Regions from separate parts of the Homo sapiens genome. Here all the other regions are linked to region 3. The links are contacts of gene promoters, found by promoter capture Hi-C in human tissues and cell types (Jung and others, 2019). All regions are on one chromosome and are shown on one strand. Each heading gives the region's core, a stretch centred on a gene start or on the middle of the fragment in contact. The rest is flanking DNA. Distances are from core to core; before and after follow the strand shown. Region 1 holds the start of MRGPRF (MAS related GPR family member F). Region 2 holds the start of MRGPRD (MAS related GPR family member D). Region 3 holds the start of MYEOV (myeloma overexpressed). Region 4 holds the start of LOC124902700 (a long non-coding RNA gene).

Region 1 (2,952 bases), core at 108-2,607, 280 kb after region 3:
GATTTCCATACCAAATAAGGCGGTGGACTTCAGAGCCTCTGCCCACTTCACACAATTCCTTTTAAGTGTCCAAACGCAATTACACTTGGAACTCGCCGGGATTCAGCCTCCCCCGGCCTCCCCATGTAAACAAGCGTTCCAGCTGGGCCCCAGCTGGCTGCCCTGGAGAGGAGGGGACGGGTCACCACCCTGCCTGCTGCCTCCAGCCTCTCTCTCAGCCTCAGGCATGGCCCGTGAGCCTCCAGGATCCCAGAGTCCCTCCTCACCCCATCCCTGAAAAACGGACCCCAGGAGGCCAGCTGAGCCGCGCAGGGAGCAGTGCGAGAGTCCCTCTTCCACGCTGAGGTTCGCACATGGCCAGGACAAGCAGGAGGCAGGCAGCTCCCAGCGCAGGTGCAGGGGCAGCTCCGCTTCTCATTTCCCTTCAAGATGCCCACAGAGGCACATCTCTCCCAGTCTGGGCACTACACTCCTGCAGGGAAAGTTCAGAATTCCCTCGGGCTTCCTGGACCCTGAGAAAGTTGGCCCAGGGTAGGAGGGGAGCCTTCTCATCACCCCCTCCTCCTGGCCACCCTGCTGGCTCCCGCACCCCCGACTCTGCACCCCCACCCCTACCAATGCTCAGTGCCCCAGGCATGAACGCGTTCCAGGACCCCCCCCCACCGCCCGCCTCCAGGGGCTCAATGGGGAAGGGGGACCTGACTCATCCTCCCGCTGAGCAGCGCAGGCACCAGGCACCACAGCCCGCCAATTTCCAGCTTGCTTGCCGAGCGCCGTGATTTTCCACTTGCGCCATCTGATTGCTATTAGGGCTGGGGAAAAGGGAATTCCTGGTTCCATAAGCCCCCAGGGGGCCCAGGCCGAGTCCGGGGTGGGAAGGGGGAGGGGTGCCGCTTGGGCGGTGCTGACCACCTCTGCCAGTTCTGCACTGCCCCTCCATGGAGCCCTCGCCCTGCTGCCCCCCACTGCTCTGTATCAGCCCCTGAGTAAATTAAAACAACGGGGTGGGGACTAGCCCCTCCTGGGCCAGCCTGCCCCGAAATGCCCACTGGGGGCAGACCAAAGACGCCAGGCAAGTGTACAGCCGGTGCTCCCTCTCCTGGGCAGCCCTGCCGAGCAGCAGAATGTGAGGGAGATGAACAGCTGGACTCGGGCTGCAGTGCTCGGGCCAACGTGACGTCACCAGGCGGAGAGATGAGTTCCCGGTGGGGCTCTGGGGGGGGCTCCTGAGCGGGGCATTCCTTCCTGAAGCCTCATCCCCGCTCAGCCCTGCTCAGCCCCTCCTCCTACTCCCCTCCCCCTCCCCCTCCTGCCGGGCCAGGAATTGGGTTTGGGGCGGGTTCTGCTTCCAAAGCCATCTCTTCCAGCAGGAGAGGGCTCTACTCTGAGCTCCTATTTTCCAAGGCTCCGGGCCGCGCTCGGCGCTGGCCTGCTGCCCCGGCGGGTCCGCCGGCCGGAGGCGGGAGTCACAGGAAGAGCCCTCCACAAAAGGAGGCCTCGGCGGATCAGGACAGCTGCAGGTAGCTCCAGGGGCCCAGGGTCCAGGGGAGGGTGTTCCAACAACCGGGGCTGCAGGGTGAGGGCCAGGCAGGGAAGGAAAATGACGCGGGCACTGTAGGGGCAGAGAGGTGGACGCTGTCGGGGCAGGCAGCTCCCAGAAATCCTAAGGCCCCAGGCAGGGAGCCCTGAGACCCCAGAGAGGCTGTCACTCACCGGAGAAGCTCCCCTGCCACTCCTGAGGCTCCAGGGTTCCAGGGCCATGGAGGAACTTTAAAAGTCCCCCTCCCGTGGCAGGACCTGACCCCTCTCAGCTGGCCTCACCCCCAGCCCCACCGTCCAGCTCCTGCTCTGTGCTGCTGGGGGTGAGGGCTCCCTCTCGGTCCCTCCCCCAGCCTCACTGGCCATTCAAGCATGCATTCTAGAGGGGCTGGAACGGAACACCCAGCAGGCAGTGTCCCACACACAGGGAGATGGCTCCCCCTGCTCTCAGCCCTGGGGTGCACATGGGGTGTCCGTGTGGGCAGCCACAGGATGTTGGGCAACTGCAGTCCCACCTTCTCCCAGGCCTGCGGCCTGATGAAGCTGTTGGCCTTGGATGGAGGCGGCTCCTGGAATGATCTGCAAGGTCTCAGTCCCCCCAGACAAGCCTCTTCAATCCAAGCTGTTAAGCAGGGGACTCCAGACCCGGAGTGAGGAAAACAGAGGCTCTGTGTCTGGGGGAGCGAGACAGGCCCCTCTGATGGCGGCACAAGCGGCTAAGGAGAGGGGCTGGGACAGCCCCAGCGGCGTCGGGGCTGGGTCATGGTGGGATGGAGTGAAGGGAGAGGAGGAGCTTCCTGCGGGCAAGGCTGCAGGAGGCTGACAGGTGGCCAGGCCACCCTTGGGCTTGCTCCGAGGGGAGGGTCAGGTGTGAGCTGTGCTGGCAGCTTTTTGGGTCAGCTTCAGTGGAAACTAGTTCTGTCATAGCAGCCCAGATCCCACCCAGAGGAACACACATACACATGTACTGACACGCACGCCCCATCCACGTGTCACACACATGTCCTTTAATATGGCCCATCTGGGGTCTGCTGGCTTCTAGATCTTTCTGTGCATGCGTGAAATCGCTTTTCAGGTTGTCCCTGGCAGGACAAGGACAAATGCACAGGGACACCCACATAATGGAGGGACGCAGATGGTAGAGAGGGGAGCTGGGGGCCCCCACTGCATGCCCACCTGCAGCGTAGGGGGGAGCCCAGCCCACTGCCTTTGGGGCACTAGTTGGTGTGGCTGGGGTCTAGCCTGGCCAGGGTGAATGGATGAGGCTCCTGTGAGTCAGGACATCTCTGGAAACAAGGCTGGGGGCCCAGACCTAGGGGTGGTGGGTGTCCAGAAGGGCCACCAAAAAGAGTAGGGGCAATGGAGAGAGCTTGGGGGGCTCTTACCAGGCGCCCGGAAGGATGAGGGCAGGTG
Region 2 (3,124 bases), core at 103-2,602, 310 kb after region 3:
GGTGAGAGAATGGGAAAACGTAAACATTCCTATTCTGCTGGTACAGGTGAAACCTGAAGCAGCCACTCAGAAAAAGAATTACCAGGCAATATTTAGTGAGACTAAATGTGCATATGTTCTATGACCGAGCAATCCTCCTCCAAGAATGTATCCCAGAAAAATATTGAGTCAAGTCCAATGGGTACATGCATGAGGATGTCCAACACAGTGTTTTGGTGATAATGGGAATTTTGAAGCAAGCTGAGGATCCACAGTAAGGAATGGATAACAGATCAATGTGCATGATGACATTTTAAACCACAACTTTTGCATACAGCCACCTGGATATATCCTACAAACATATTGTCAAGTGAAAAATAAAAAACCCATCATTAATTCTAAATCACAACATTTACGTAAATTTAAAACACAATGGGCAACCACTCCATCTTGAAAGATATTGAGGTGTCCAAGGATTTGCGTGAAACAGGTTGGATGGATGCAAGCGGCAGGAGGAAAAAGGCAGCTAAGATGGGATGGGGAAGGAAACTTGAATAAATGGAGGGTTTTTAATGGGCTGATGCTCATGGTGTGTCTTAAACTAAGGAGTGTAGTTAATTCTACACTTTGCCCTGAGGTCTAATTTTTTTTTTTTTTTAAGAGACAGCATCTCGCTCTGTCTTCCAGGCTGGGGTGCAGTGGCGGGACCATGGCTCACTACAACCTCAATGTGCCAGGCTCAAGCGATCCTCCCGCCTTGGCCTCTCAAGTAGGTGGGACCACAGGTGTGTGCCACCATGCCTGGCTAATTAAAAAAAAAAATTGTAGAGATGAGATCTTGCTATGTGGCCCAGGCTGGTCTCAAACTCCTGGCCTCAAGCAAACCCCAAAGTGCTGGGGTTACAGGCATGCACCACCACGCCCAGCCCTAAGGTCTATTGTTTTTTTAATTAACTCACAGGGTTTGACAATTACAGGAGAAAAAAAAAATGATTTCAAATGTTTCTATCAAATAGTTTTTCTACATCTATTGATAATAATGATTTTTCTATAATAGATGTAGAAAAAGCATTTGATAAAATTCAATACCTCTCCATGATTTAAAAAATAATTCAAAGCAAGATAGAAGAGAATTTTTTAACCTGATAAAGGGTATTTATAACAGCTTTGTAGCTATAAAGGTGACCCTGGAGGCAGATCTGGGCTGAGTGAGTCACAGGAGTGGGGGAAGGTTAAGCCTCCCGGTCATGGTCTGTTACATAAAGAACCTGGAGGGGAGAGCTCTGAAGCTGGAAATTCGAGGGGCACCCAGGGGTCCCCCGTGGTCCCAGCAACACAGAATTTCACATTGGTACATCTTCCTCTCGTAGGGATGAACCAGACTTTGAATAGCAGTGGGACCGTGGAGTCAGCCCTAAACTATTCCAGAGGGAGCACAGTGCACACGGCCTACCTGGTGCTGAGCTCCCTGGCCATGTTCACCTGCCTGTGCGGGATGGCAGGCAACAGCATGGTGATCTGGCTGCTGGGCTTTCGAATGCACAGGAACCCCTTCTGCATCTATATCCTCAACCTGGCGGCAGCCGACCTCCTCTTCCTCTTCAGCATGGCTTCCACGCTCAGCCTGGAAACCCAGCCCCTGGTCAATACCACTGACAAGGTCCACGAGCTGATGAAGAGACTGATGTACTTTGCCTACACAGTGGGCCTGAGCCTGCTGACGGCCATCAGCACCCAGCGCTGTCTCTCTGTCCTCTTCCCTATCTGGTTCAAGTGTCACCGGCCCAGGCACCTGTCAGCCTGGGTGTGTGGCCTGCTGTGGACACTCTGTCTCCTGATGAACGGGTTGACCTCTTCCTTCTGCAGCAAGTTCTTGAAATTCAATGAAGATCGGTGCTTCAGGGTGGACATGGTCCAGGCCGCCCTCATCATGGGGGTCTTAACCCCAGTGATGACTCTGTCCAGCCTGACCCTCTTTGTCTGGGTGCGGAGGAGCTCCCAGCAGTGGCGGCGGCAGCCCACACGGCTGTTCGTGGTGGTCCTGGCCTCTGTCCTGGTGTTCCTCATCTGTTCCCTGCCTCTGAGCATCTACTGGTTTGTGCTCTACTGGTTGAGCCTGCCGCCCGAGATGCAGGTCCTGTGCTTCAGCTTGTCACGCCTCTCCTCGTCCGTAAGCAGCAGCGCCAACCCCGTCATCTACTTCCTGGTGGGCAGCCGGAGGAGCCACAGGCTGCCCACCAGGTCCCTGGGGACTGTGCTCCAACAGGCGCTTCGCGAGGAGCCCGAGCTGGAAGGTGGGGAGACGCCCACCGTGGGCACCAATGAGATGGGGGCTTGAGAGCCGCCCACAGGTGCTTCCCACCTGTGCGAGCCCATGCCCTGGAGATTCCCGAGCCGTGAGCTGCCTCCCACCTCGTCCCTGCCAAGTGTCTGGCCCGCCTTCTTGGGGGAGCCCCAAGGACTTTGCAGCTGCATGTGGGGGTCACTTCCCTGCATGTCAAAACTCCCCACAACACCTGTGTCCTGGATCTCACAATGCAACCCCGCTGGAAGATGCAATTTATTTGTTTATAGCAGATTATCTGGTTGGGGGAAAATATTAGCTTTTAGCCCTACCCTGCTTTAAGCTGGTTATCTATGGGTGGATAACAGGAATCTCATTTGAATATGAAAGCTTTCTCCCAACCACCTTCTCTGCCTAAGACGGCATCTTTGTGGAGGAGGCAGGTGACCTCGGGTGATCTTTGGCCCTATGCTGGTCCTTGGGTGGCATCAACTGGCCACCAAGGTGGTGCCCCCGTGCACCTTTCCCCAGGTGTGCCTGAAGTCTGGCAAGTAAACGGTGTCGCCATCGCCGACCCGGATCTCGCTGGCTGTGGGCCATGAGACTCTGCCCCACCATCCCTCTGACCCCTGGCCAGCCCTTGACCCCTGGCATTTGCTATGAGGTCGCCTTACCCTGTCACCCCTCGCACCCAGGGCAGGCCTGTTCGCTTTCCTCCAGGCCGCACTGGGAAGGGAAGAGCCTCTGCCTGGCTTCACTGGCAGTCACTCCAGCAGATGCTGATAGGACAGTGCCCCAGGCAGTGGAGGGCAGCCTTCCAGGCAGTGTCCCCCAGAGCCAGAGTCTCATACCTCACTGACT
Region 3 (2,885 bases), core at 1-2,500:
AGACCTATCGGGAGAGCTGGGGTGTATGTGACGCAGATTCTGAGGGCCATGAGCCGAGGGAAGGAGCCAGACGCTGTCCTAAGTGCCAGGGGAAGTTGTTAGAGGTGTTAAGCGTGGCATGACGTGGCTGGATTTAGGGTCTGAGATGAACTTTCCTGCTCCTGAATGGACTCTGAGGAGAAGGAAGATACTACCATCCGTAATCCACCCCGGGAAGGCACTGACCTCCTTGACCATGGGGAGGATGAGAGGCCGCCGCTCTGTGCCTGGGTCCCCATGGCCTCTAGGGTCCCTTCACGTTTTCACCTCATGATCCTGGAAGCTGGGACCTGCCCAAATCCACCGGGTGGCCCCAGCCTCCCCATCTCTGGGGCAGGGGGTGGGCAGCCTTCTCCTCCTGGTTTATAGCCACAGATGACTCCAGGCACAGTGGTCCTCAACCGCCTCTAGGGACCATGGGGACGGCTGCCCTCTGTGTGTGACGGTGGCTGGGCAGAAGCCAGCTGGGCTGTCGTGGGTAGGGCCTGGAGGCCTCTGGCTGTATGGTGGTCTAGCTTTGGCACCACCTTGGGGGGCTCCGGGTAGGAGGTGTCCACCAGAGGGGACCTGGGCAGCTCAGCAGAGGCTTGGTCACTCCCGAGCCGTCTGTGGGTCCCACTGGTCTGTACCCTCAACCCCACTGACCTGCACTGGTCATGCCCAGCTCTCACAGGATGATGGCCCCAGCCTTGTAATGAGTCACCTGCTGCCCTCCTGCCCCTCCAGCTGGTCCCCCACCCAGCAGCCACAGGGCTTTCCTTAAAACATAAGAAAGACCCTGCTTCTTACCTGCTCAGATCCCACCAAGAACCGGCCACCTCACTCCAGATAAACTCCAGACTCTTCACTGAGCCCAAAGGCAACGAGCAGAAGTGTCCAGAAATCACACAGAGCTCAGCAGGTGGTGAGGCACCTGGACCCGAGTCACCCAGCAGCTGAACAGGCCATCCCTGAGGCCATGCACGCCCCGGCCCTGCAGGTGTGACGGCCGAGGCTTCCACGACGGGGGGTGAGTGGGAGCTAATATGGCTGGTGAAAGCACTGGGTTCAGTGGGGATGGCATCTCCCGCCCTCTGTCCAAGGTGGGGAAAAAGTCAGCTTCAGGTGAGGGAGACCCTGGACGCCTGGCTTTGGGCTGATTCCCCACTCACTTGGCCTCTCCCAAGCATACTTTCCTGCTTTGTAGGGATGTGGGTTCGCGGGACAGTAACAGGAGAATCAAGGCAAGAACTCAGAGGGGGATAGCCAAGGTAGGCGGAGCTGCCTGGTGGGTGGGACTAACCCAGGTGGGTGGGGCTGCTTGTGAGTGGGGCTAGCCCAGGTGGGTGGGGCTGCCTGGTGGGCAGGGCTTTCTTCCCCGTCAACATTTCCCTCTCTCGGTTAAGGCCAGGGCAGAGCCCACACATGGGTGTGCCCAACCTTAAGGCCTGCCCTGGGTGAGTTAAGACTCCCCAGCTCACCTAGGTCCTACCTGAGGGGAACCTACACGGCCAACCTCCTCAAGGATCCTGAAGCCACCCAGAAGACAGTGGGGCTAGGGTGCCATTCATTCATTCATTTATTCATTCACCTATTCATTTATTTACTCGCTTCACCACCCTTTCCTGGGTAATATTAAGAATAACAGTGGGCCTAGGAATATAGAACATTCTTAGGGGTTTCTTGCAGGCCAGGCACCCTAAGAAAAAGTTATGTAACCCACGTGGCCTCGCTGTGAGGGGGACGACTGCTGTCCTCACTTAATAGATGAGGAGCTGAGCCATGGAGGCCTCACAGCTGGGCAGCTGGGGGTGGACCCCATAGACTGGAGGGGGATGGGCAGGGGCAAGGAGTTCTGCTGGCCCCAGGCCTCTTGTACACATCTTGGGAAGTACTAAAAATGAGTACTTGCTCAAGTCCCTCTCTTCATTGAGCACAGGGAGCTCTTGGCCCTTCCCTCCTCCTCCCTTTACCCTCACCGCCCAATTCCACACGGGTGTACTGAGCACTTGCTAAGGGCCAAGACCAGCACTAGGTGGAGCACACAGTAGGAACCCAAGGCAGCCCTCCCTGCCCAGCTCTCCAGGACACTGTCGTCAATGCCAGCGGGAAGCATAGAGAGGCCAGGGAAAGACGGGCAGTCAGGAGGAAGGAGCCAGCGGAGGGGAGAGAGGGCCGGCAGCTCAGTGCACCTGGACCGTGGTGGATGCTGGACTATGACCAGAGACAGGGCTGCAGCCCAGAGCTAGCCCCAGACCCACAGGGCCTCAGGGGGCTTCACAGGCTTTGTCAGGGGTTTGGACTTTCTCCCGAGGGCTGGGGACCCTGCAAGTTGCAGAAACTGGGCTATATTTGGCATTTTAGAAGCCTCCCCCAGCTGTAGTGGAGGGGAATTGGAGGGAGTGGGAGAGGAGGTTCCCATTCTCACTCAGGTGGGAGATGGTGGTGGGATGGAGGGTGACCCTGATTGATAGGACTCAGGGACAAATTAAAGGTGAGGGCCAGGGAGAGGGTTATCCAGACAGCTCCCAGGAAGATGGCAGTGGGATGGAGGGTGACCCTGATGGGACTCAGGGACAAATTAAAGGTGAGGGCCAGGGAGAGGGTTATCCAGACAGCTCCCAGGAAGATGGTGACACCAGTGAGGTGGGGAGATAGGATGGCATTTGGTTCCCACTGAGCTGGAGATGCCTGTACAAAGCTTCTAAGATACCCAAGGCAGAATCTGCAGCTCCTGCAAAGACAAGAGCTCTGCTCTGCCTCCAGGGAATCAGGGGAGGTCTCCCCAGTGCCCTACTGGGACCTCCAGAGACCCTATGCGAGCCTCCCCCAACCCAACCACCAGCCCATCAGCGCCACCTACCGGC
Region 4 (3,142 bases), core at 505-3,004, 440 kb after region 3:
TCACGAGGTCAGGAGTTCGAGACCAGCCTGGCCAATATGGTGAAACCCCGTCTCTACTAAAAATACAAACATTAGCCGGGTGTAGTGGCGAGCGTCTGTAATCCCAGCTACTCAGGAGGCTGAGGCAGGAGATTCGCTTGAACCGGGGAGGCAGAGGTTGCAGTGAGCCGAGATCATGCCATTGTGCTCCAGCCTGGGCGACAGAGCGAGACTCCATCATAAATAAATAAACAAACAAACAAATAAATAAATAAATAAAAAGAGGAGCCGAGGGAGAGCCTGGGACGGAACTGGGGCTCTCCATGGGCGCTTAGAGGAGCTGAGGAAGGCGGGGGACACCCGCACGCCCCCTCCCTAGCCTCCGCCAGCTCCTTCCCAGAGGGAAGGACCCGCGGCTGCGCGGGCGCCCTGGAACTAGACTGCGCCCTGGACCCCCAGCCCCTCTGCGGTCCTGCGCGGGCGCCGGGGCCGGCAGGGGAGGGGGCTGCAGCGCCTGGACTGGCCATGGAATTATGTTGCATGAAAAACAAAGAAAGCAGCGCTATTCGGCCGGTCGGCCGCTCCCTCCCCACCTCCCCCGACCCTGGGCCTTAGAGGAGGGTCACTTCCTCCTCCCCACCGGTCCCTACCGCCAGAATACCCCAACTCTTCTTTCCTCCGTCCGAAACCTGTGACTTCAAGGAAACAATTAGCTTCTCCGGCAGCCAATGAGCGCCCAGCCAATTCCCCATTTTTCCAATGCACAAACGTTTTGGGGGGTTGGAGACGCCCAGGACCCCAGAAACAGGACAATCGCAGTTTCGGACTGGAGCGGCGAGGGGGGAGAGACGGGTGGGTCTTAGACAAGGAAGAAGCCTCACTGCAAGCACAGCGGAGGAAGGCATTATGTCTATTTGGGGTAATGGGGGGACGCAAGTGACCTCCGAGTGGACCTTGAAGGCTGAGTGGGAATCTTCCAGAAGGGAAAGGAGACAGCCATTGGGTTATATTTCAGGATCAAGGTCAGCGTGGGAGGTCCGGGCACCCACACCCACCTCCCAGGCAGACTGAAAGTGCTGTACTGTGCGCATCTGTCCTATCATGAATGGACGCATCCAATGTGGTCTGTCCGGACAAACAGAGTACTATTCAGCTATACAAAGGAGTGAAACACCGACCCAGGCTACAACATTGGTGAACCCTGAAGACATGATACTCAGTGAAAAAAGGCAGTCACCAACGACCACATGTTGTAGGATCCCATTCCTATGAAATGTGCAAAATAGGCAAATCCATATGTGAATTTGACAAAAAGTGGACTGGTGGCTGCCCCGGGTGGGGAACATGGGGAGAAAGGCTGCTAATGGGTTGAGTGTTTTGTTTAGGGGAAAATGTTTAGGAAATTAGATTGTGGTGGTGGTTGCACAACCCTGTGTATATACCAAAATCGATTGAATTGTACACTTGAAAACAGTGAACTTTATGGTATGTGAGTCAAATCTCAGTAGATTAAAAAAAAGAGAGCTTAGCAGGGCCAGGCGCAGTGGCTCACACCTGCAATCCCAGCACTTTGGGAGGCCGAGGCGGGTGGATCACCTGAGGTCAGGAGTTCGAGACCAGCTTAGCTAAAATGGCAAAACCTCATCTCCACTAAAAATACACAAATGGCCAGACACAGTGGCTCACACCTGTAATCCCAGCACTTTAGGAGGCCAAGGTGGGTGGATCACCTGAGGTTGGGAGTTCGAGACCAGCCTGACCAACATGGAGAAACCCCTTCTCTACTAAAAATACAAAATTAGCCAGGCATGGTGATACATACCTGTTATCCCAGTTACTCGGGAGGCTGAGGCAGAAGAATCACTTGAACCCGGGAGGCAGAGGTGGCCGTGAGCCAAGATCGCACCATTGCACTCCAGCCTGGGCAACAAGAGCAAAAACTCCATCTCAAAAAACAAAACAAAACAAAACAAAAAAAACAAAACAACAACAAAAATTAGCAGGACGTGGTGGCGCCCACCTGTAATCCAGCTACTTGGGAGGCTGAGGCAGGAGAATCGCTTGAACCCGGGAGGCGGAGTTGCAGTGAGCCGAGATCTCAACACTGCACTCCAGTCTGTGCGACAGAGCAAGAGATCAAGACTTCATCTAAAAAAAAAAAAAAAAGACAGAGAGCTTAGCAGAGTTGCACCTCAGATCCTGCATCGTGGTTCTTATGGCTGCTCCATTTTGCAGCAGAGGAAGCTTCTGCTTGAGCCTTGCAGTGGAGCAAGGCTGCAGCTGCCCTCTGAGAGTGTCTTCTCTGGAGAGCTGACTGGCCCTGCTTTGCCTCCGTCTCCTCTCCTGGCACCTGATCCATGGCTGTGCACAAAAACAAGAAGAAGTGAGTGGAAAGGCACGCTGGGCAGAGGGAACAGCGAGAACAGATGCTCAGAGGCAGGAGGTGGGGTGAGGTTTTCAGTGGAGAGAGCACAGAGCCCAGTGAGGTTTGTGAGCCCAGGTTGGAAAGGTCGTTTGGGCACAGATCTCTAGGAGGTCTTTCCGGCCTGCCTGAGAGGAAGGGCCAGCTTCCGGGAAATGCAACTCGCACAGTCACACAAGGGGAGAACTTAACAGGGCTTCGTGGTTAGTTTCATGCTCTGCAGTCACTGGCTTGAAATTCCTTTCTTGTTTTTTAAAATTTTTTTCAATTTTATGTATTTATTTATTTTGGAGACTGAGTCTCGAGAGCTCTGTCACCCAGGCTGGAGTGCAGTGGTGCGATCATAGCTCACTGCAGCCTCGAACTCCTGGGCTCAAGCTGAAGCCATTCTCTTACCTCAGCCTCTCAAGTAGCTGGGACTACAGGCACACCACCAGGTAATTTTTTATTTTTGGTAGAGACAAGGTCTGGCTTTGTTGCCCAGGCTGGTCTCAAACTCCTGGTTTCAAGCGATCTTCCCACCTCAGCTTGAAATTCTTCATAGTTTTTGATCAAAGGTCTCAGCCTTCATTTCACTTTGCTTGACAAATTTTGAAGCCTGTTCTGCCTGGAGGCCACAGATTGCCTCAAAGATGTTGGGGCACAGAAGGTGACCGCGAAGAAGGGCACACATGGGGACAGTTTAGAGGTTCCTGTGGGAGACATGGAAATGGGGTGAGGGCCTGGAAGGGAAGGGCCAGA

The links. The method cuts DNA at HindIII sites, captures the fragments that hold promoters and counts their contacts. A contact is called where the count stands out against the background at its distance.
Region 1: a contact is called between the fragment with the promoter of MRGPRF here and the fragment with the promoter of MYEOV in region 3, in 2 of the 25 tissues and cell types used here (IMR-90 fibroblasts and stomach).
Region 2: a contact is called between the fragment with the promoter of MRGPRD here and the fragment with the promoter of MYEOV in region 3, in 2 of the 25 tissues and cell types used here (mesendoderm cells and thymus).
Region 4: a fragment that was not itself captured here is called in contact with the fragment with the promoter of MYEOV in region 3 in 1 of the 25 tissues and cell types used here (spleen).

The regions. Positions count from the first base shown.
Region 1 is chr11:69,011,651-69,014,602 of GRCh38, reverse strand. MRGPRF (MAS related GPR family member F) reads left to right here and starts at 1,357. Exons shown (of 3, transcript NM_145015.5): 1 at 1,357-1,520. MRGPRF-AS1 (MRGPRF antisense RNA 1) reads right to left here and starts at 2,249. Exons shown (of 6, transcript NR_120541.1): 1 at 2,055-2,249; 2 at 699-812; 3 at 287-472; 4 at 12-162. The HindIII fragment of the contact is 18,072 bases long and covers 1-2,952 here.
Region 2 is chr11:68,979,214-68,982,337 of GRCh38, reverse strand. It overlaps MRGPRD (MAS related GPR family member D), which reads left to right and starts at 1,352. Exons shown (of 1, transcript NM_198923.2): 1 at 1,352-2,317. The coding sequence starts at 1,352. The coding sequence ends at 2,317. RefSeq lists an enhancer at 1,863-2,372. The HindIII fragment of the contact is 17,904 bases long and covers 1-3,124 here.
Region 3 is chr11:69,292,520-69,295,404 of GRCh38, reverse strand. It overlaps MYEOV (myeloma overexpressed), which reads right to left and starts at 1,250. Exons shown (of 3, transcript NM_001293291.2): 1 at 829-1,250; 2 at 1-172. The coding sequence starts at 50. RefSeq lists an enhancer at 2,128-2,679. The HindIII fragment of the contact is 12,136 bases long and covers 1-2,885 here.
Region 4 is chr11:68,852,059-68,855,200 of GRCh38, reverse strand. LOC124902700 (a long non-coding RNA gene) reads right to left here and starts at 1,835. Exons shown (of 3, transcript XR_007062752.1): 1 at 1,802-1,835. The HindIII fragment of the contact is 8,710 bases long and covers 1-3,142 here.